Regions from separate parts of the Homo sapiens genome. Here region 1 is linked to region 2. Evidence: promoter capture Hi-C in 16 types of primary human blood cells and fetal thymus (Javierre and others, 2016). All regions are on one chromosome and are shown on one strand. The core of a region is centred on a gene start or on the middle of the fragment in contact, and the rest is flanking DNA. Distances in the headings are between cores, read along the strand shown. Region 1 has its middle 40 kb from the start of LINC01548. Region 2 holds the start of OLIG2 (oligodendrocyte transcription factor 2).

Region 1 (3,433 bases), core at 380-2,879, 100 kb after region 2:
ACCTTGGAATTCCTTGGAGAGAAAGCACCATTGCAAATAAAGAGGCCACAGCACTAGTGATGGTGGAGAAAGTGGCCAATGCCGTATCTTTAGATGCTTGGGTTTTGGGTTGGGTAGAGTTTTTCGGCACGTTTGGGAAGTGGCTTCTTATATGCCCAGCTCTAGTTTGGGGGCTTCCCATGTGTTTTTGTGTCTAACATGTATTGTTCTCAGCACTGTGCTGATTTTCCATGTGTTCATTCATTTAATTCTCACAACAACCAAAATGCGTTAATTCATTCATTCTGAATCAACTTGTTTAATCAAGAGAATTTGACAATGCCCACCCCCTCTCCCTTGGAAAATAAGGGTTAGCCTAGCAGACTGCTCAGGGTCAGGCTTCTTAATCCCTTTCAATGCCATTGTCAATATATTGAACCCTATTCAGGAATCAGCAATGACTTTCCGTGCCTGCTCCATCAAGTCTCATTTCCTCTGCCTTGCTCAAAAAACCTTTTATAACCCTCTTTATAATGCTCCCACTTCCTCTTCTTCCAGCTGCACCTCTACTTCTCCAAACAAATGTAGAATCCCCATGGCAGTGAGTCGAGTGTCCTGGGTGAGGTGGGAGCTATTGTTCATAATCCATGTTGCTATTGCCCAGTAAGACACATTGCACCCCACAGAATATACCCATTGCCTTTTCTTCAACTTTGGGGGACATACCGAGTCTTCACTATACACAGAGTCTGCAGGTAGATAGAGATCTCTCAGTGGCTTTTCTAGGCAACTTGTTCCCGCTACCCCAGTAGGTATGGACATAACCTCAGCTCTCGACTCTCGGGGAGCACCATCTGGTCATCCATGTGAAAAGAAGAGACAACTCTACCCTGTTATAAAAACATGCCTGACACTTGGAAATAAAGCAAGGGAGGACTGCCCTTCAGTGCCAGCCTGGAGCACTCAGGGTCATCACATTCCCCAGGGGATATGCCTTTGCTTGACCCATTCATTATTGGGCCCAGATTCTGATGTTACATGTTAACTTGTAGATTTTTACAAAATAATTTCCCTTTTTCTTTTTTATTTTTCTTATTTATTTTATTATTATTATTATTATTATTATTATTATTATTTTTGAGATGGAGTCTCACTCTGTCGCCCGGGCTGGAGTGCAGTGGTGTGATCTCGGCTCACTGCAACCTCTGCCTCCCGGGTTCAAGAGATTCTCCTGCCTTAGCCTCCTGAGTAGCTGGGACTACAGGCACATCCCACCACGCCCAGCTAATTTTTGTATTTTTAGTAGAGACGGGGTTTCACCATGTTGGCCAGGCTCATCTCGATCTCTTGACCTCATGATCCGCCCGCCTCAGCCTCCCAAAGTGCTGGGATTACAAGTGTAAGCCACCGTGCCCGGCCTCCCTTTTGATTTCTAAATAATTTTAAAATTTTAGAAATGTTGCAAGAATAATGCAAAGACCTGTTTTTCCTAATTCACTTGAGTAATAAGTTGCTGACATGATGCCCATCACCCTAAAATACTTTAATGTGTATCTCCTATGATTGTGAAAGTCACCCACTTTCATGATCTAAATACAACCACCAAAATGAAGAAATTAACATCGGTACATACTATCATCTCATTCTCAAATGCCATCCACACTTCTCTAGTTGTTTCAATCTCACTAAACTTTTATAGGCAAGGGACCCAATCCAGGATTGCTCATCACACAGAGTTGTCCCATCTCTTTAGTCTCCTTCAATCTAGAACAGTTTCTATCTCTCATGACCTTGACACTTTTGACAATAATAGGCCAATTATTCCGTAGATGTTCCTTAGTGTAGGTTTTTCAGGTGATGCCTTATTATGAGGGTCAGGGATGTCTTTGGCAGAAACATCATCATAGAAGTGATGCTGGGTTCATCTTGTATCTGGCCAAGTGGCACACAATTTTAATTTACCCCAGTCCTGGTGACTTACATGTAAACGAAATAATGAAGGTGATGTTGTCCATGTGCCTCCGCTGTAAAGTTACTTTTTTCCCCCTTTGTAACATACAAGGATCTTGTGGGGAGGTACGTGAGCCTTTGCAAATATCCCATTCCTCATCAGACTTCACTCACTGTTTTTAATATCCACCAGTGTTTCTTCGTTGGATGATTATGATGGTTGCCAATAAATGATTTTCTAATTCCATCACTTTCCTAATATTTATTAGTTGGAATTAGTAATTTTTGTGTAGAGATAGGGTCTCACTATGTTGCCCAGCCTGGTCTCAAACTCCTAGGCTCAAGCAACCCTCCCACCTCAGCCTCCCAAAGTGTTGGGATTCAGTTGTGAGCCACTGTGCCCCGCCATATTAGTTAGAATTCTGCTTTTTCCACTTATACATTCATCTGTTTGTTTATATCGGTAGGAACTCAAGCGTACTTATTTTACTTATCAGGTGATACTCTGCTCCTATCGTTATTCATTTTTATGCCTCAATTATCCCAGTTCTGGCCGGTAGGAGCTCCTTCACTCTGGCTTCTGGGTTCTCCGGACATGTGCCTATAATTCTTTGAGCCCTTCTTTACTTCCTGGCACAAGACGTTCTAGCTTCATCTTGTACTTTCCCTGACTCCTCATCCAGCCTTGGAATTGACCATTTCTCCAAGGAGTTTGGGTTCCTTTAAGTGGGGACTTTAGGAACCAAGATCTGAGCACTGATGTATTGTCTGCTCCCGGGTGGCACTGTTCCCAGGCCCTCCCAGTGAACGGAACTAGGCTACATTTATATACGAGTTGACACTGACACTTCCAATTCCAGTCCAACACCAAAGGGCTTATTCTAGGATTTTTCCCTTCCACATGTGTAACTCCCTTCTTCATTGATGAGAAACCTGGTTCCCTCATCGACCTTAACATACATGATGTTCATAAGGTCCAGAAACAGTTAAATATATATAATATTATTAAAGCCATCTCCAGTCTGTAAAGTAATAATCATAATGTTGTTTTCTATGCATTCAGAATCTACAGACACCCCGTATTGGTTATTGGACCTGTCCTTCAGTGTGTATACAGTGCCACCCTGGCACCCCTCGCAGCCTGCACAGGCACTCTCACAGCCCCCGCCACGCCACATCCTCCTACTCCTACTCCCTGGGAGTATCACACTGCCAAGATGACTCCCCTCTGGCATCGCTCGAATTCACTACTGGGCTAAAAGAATGCCTGGATTCTCCTTCCTCACCACGGATTGCACGACCAGATGTCCCAGCTGTTATCAGAGCTTTCATAAGGTCTGGAGTTCAGCAGGAAAGTCCAGGTGAAATAGGCTTGTCTTGCCACGTATCCCTGTCAACGCTATTGTTCTTTTTGTCCCTCTCAGTTTAGTAGCTGGACCAGTTTCCATCTGCACACCATTGTTCCGGTGGCCCCCTCTCCTGGAACACACTCCCCACCTTCTCT
Region 2 (3,304 bases), core at 645-3,144:
GGACGACATAACACCACGCTTCAGTTCTTCATGTTTTAAATACATATTTAACGGATGGCTGCAGAGCCAGCTGGGAAACACGCGGATTGAAAAATAATGCTCCAGAAGGCACGAGACTGGGGCGAAGGCGAGAGCGGGCTGGGCTTCTAGCGGAGACCGCAGAGGGAGACATATCTCAGAACTAGGGGCAATAACGTGGGTTTCTCTTTGTATTTGTTTATTTTGTAACTTTGCTACTTGAAGACCAATTATTTACTATGCTAATTTGTTTGCTTGTTTTTAAAACCGTACTTGCACAGTAAAAGTTCCCCAACAACGGAAGTAACCCGACGTTCCTCACACTCCCTAGGAGACTGTGTGCGTGTGTGCCCGCGCGTGCGCTCACAGTGTCAAGTGCTAGCATCCGAGATCTGCAGAAACAAATGTCTGAATTCGAAATGTATGGGTGTGAGAAATTCAGCTCGGGGAAGAGATTAGGGACTGGGGGAGACAGGTGGCTGCCTGTACTATAAGGAACCGCCAACGCCAGCATCTGTAGTCCAAGCAGGGCTGCTCTGTAAAGGCTTAGCAATTTTTTCTGTAGGCTTGCTGCACACGGTCTCTGGCTTTTCCCATCTGTAAAATGGGTGAATGCATCCGTACCTCAGCTACCTCCGTGAGGTGCTTCTCCAGTTCGGGCTTAATTCCTCATCGTCAAGAGTTTTCAGGTTTCAGAGCCAGCCTGCAATCGGTAAAACATGTCCCAACGCGGTCGCGAGTGGTTCCATCTCGCTGTCTGGCCCACAGCGTGGAGAAGCCTTGCCCAGGCCTGAAACTTCTCTTTGCAGTTCCAGAAAGCAGGCGACTGGGACGGAAGGCTCTTTGCTAACCTTTTACAGCGGAGCCCTGCTTGGACTACAGATGCCAGCGTTGCCCCTGCCCCAAGGCGTGTGGTGATCACAAAGACGACACTGAAAATACTTACTATCATCCGGCTCCCCTGCTAATAAATGGAGGGGTGTTTAACTACAGGCACGACCCTGCCCTTGTGCTAGCGCGGTTACCGTGCGGAAATAACTCGTCCCTGTACCCACACCATCCTCAACCTAAAGGAGAGTTGTGAATTCTTTCAAAACACTCTTCTGGAGTCCGTCCCCTCCCTCCTTGCCCGCCCTCTACCCCTCAAGTCCCTGCCCCCAGCTGGGGGCGCTACCGGCTGCCGTCGGAGCTGCAGCCACGGCCATCTCCTAGACGCGCGAGTAGAGCACCAAGATAGTGGGGACTTTGTGCCTGGGCATCGTTTACATTTGGGGCGCCAAATGCCCACGTGTTGATGAAACCAGTGAGATGGGAACAGGCGGCGGGAAACCAGACAGAGGAAGAGCTAGGGAGGAGACCCCAGCCCCGGATCCTGGGTCGCCAGGGTTTTCCGCGCGCATCCCAAAAGGTGCGGCTGCGTGGGGCATCAGGTTAGTTTGTTAGACTCTGCAGAGTCTCCAAACCATCCCATCCCCCAACCTGACTCTGTGGTGGCCGTATTTTTTACAGAAATTTGACCACGTTCCCTTTCTCCCTTGGTCCCAAGCGCGCTCAGCCCTCCCTCCATCCCCCTTGAGCCGCCCTTCTCCTCCCCCTCGCCTCCTCGGGTCCCTCCTCCAGTCCCTCCCCAAGAATCTCCCGGCCACGGGCGCCCATTGGTTGTGCGCAGGGAGGAGGCGTGTGCCCGGCCTGGCGAGTTTCATTGAGCGGAATTAGCCCGGATGACATCAGCTTCCCAGCCCCCCGGCGGGCCCAGCTCATTGGCGAGGCAGCCCCTCCAGGACACGCACATTGTTCCCCGCCCCCGCCCCCGCCACCGCTGCCGCCGTCGCCGCTGCCACCGGGCTATAAAAACCGGCCGAGCCCCTAAAGGTGCGGATGCTTATTATAGATCGACGCGACACCAGCGCCCGGTGCCAGGTTCTCCCCTGAGGCTTTTCGGAGCGAGCTCCTCAAATCGCATCCAGAGTAAGTGTCCCCGCCCCACAGCAGCCGCAGCCTAGATCCCAGGGACAGACTCTCCTCAACTCGGCTGTGACCCAGAATGCTCCGATACAGGGGGTCTGGATCCCTACTCTGCGGGCCATTTCTCCAGAGCGACTTTGCTCTTCTGTCCTCCCCACACTCACCGCTGCATCTCCCTCACCAAAAGCGAGAAGTCGGAGCGACAACAGCTCTTTCTGCCCAAGCCCCAGTCAGCTGGTGAGCTCCCCGTGGTCTCCAGATGCAGCACATGGACTCTGGGCCCCGCGCCGGCTCTGGGTGCATGTGCGTGTGCGTGTGTTTGCTGCGTGGTGTCGATGGAGATAAGGTGGATCCGTTTGAGGAACCAAATCATTAGTTCTCTATCTAGATCTCCATTCTCCCCAAAGAAAGGCCCTCACTTCCCACTCGTTTATTCCAGCCCGGGGGCTCAGTTTTCCCACACCTAACTGAAAGCCCGAAGCCTCTAGAATGCCACCCGCACCCCGAGGGTCACCAACGCTCCCTGAAATAACCTGTTGCATGAGAGCAGAGGGGAGATAGAGAGAGCTTAATTATAGGTACCCGCGTGCAGCTAAAAGGAGGGCCAGAGATAGTAGCGAGGGGGACGAGGAGCCACGGGCCACCTGTGCCGGGACCCCGCGCTGTGGTACTGCGGTGCAGGCGGGAGCAGCTTTTCTGTCTCTCACTGACTCACTCTCTCTCTCTCTCCCTCTCTCTCTCTCTCATTCTCTCTCTTTTCTCCTCCTCTCCTGGAAGTTTTCGGGTCCGAGGGAAGGAGGACCCTGCGAAAGCTGCGACGACTATCTTCCCCTGGGGCCATGGACTCGGACGCCAGCCTGGTGTCCAGCCGCCCGTCGTCGCCAGAGCCCGATGACCTTTTTCTGCCGGCCCGGAGTAAGGGCAGCAGCGGCAGCGCCTTCACTGGGGGCACCGTGTCCTCGTCCACCCCGAGTGACTGCCCGCCGGAGCTGAGCGCCGAGCTGCGCGGCGCTATGGGCTCTGCGGGCGCGCATCCTGGGGACAAGCTAGGAGGCAGTGGCTTCAAGTCATCCTCGTCCAGCACCTCGTCGTCTACGTCGTCGGCGGCTGCGTCGTCCACCAAGAAGGACAAGAAGCAAATGACAGAGCCGGAGCTGCAGCAGCTGCGTCTCAAGATCAACAGCCGCGAGCGCAAGCGCATGCACGACCTCAACATCGCCATGGATGGCCTCCGCGAGGTCATGCCGTACGCACACGGCCCTTCGGTGCGCAAGCTTTCCAAGATCGCCACGCTGCTGCTGGCGCGCAACTACATCCTCAT

The links. The method cuts DNA at HindIII sites, captures the fragments that hold promoters and counts their contacts. A CHiCAGO score of 5 or more calls a contact.
Region 1: a fragment that was not itself captured here is called in contact with the fragment with the promoter of OLIG2 in region 2 in 3 of 17 cell types (M0 macrophages, M1 macrophages and megakaryocytes); the score reaches 7.3 in M0 macrophages.

What each region holds. Positions count from the first base shown.
Region 1 is chr21:33,128,209-33,131,641 of GRCh38, forward strand. No RefSeq gene overlaps it. Among named protein-coding and RNA genes, the nearest start is that of LINC01548, 40 kb to the right of the region's middle. The HindIII fragment of the contact is 4,086 bases long and covers 1-3,433 here.
Region 2 is chr21:33,024,041-33,027,344 of GRCh38, forward strand. It overlaps OLIG2 (oligodendrocyte transcription factor 2), which reads left to right and starts at 1,895. Exons shown (of 2, transcript NM_005806.4): 1 at 1,895-1,986; 2 at 2,761-3,304. The coding sequence starts at 2,823. RefSeq lists an enhancer at 1,724-2,626. The HindIII fragment of the contact is 3,945 bases long and covers 1-3,255 here.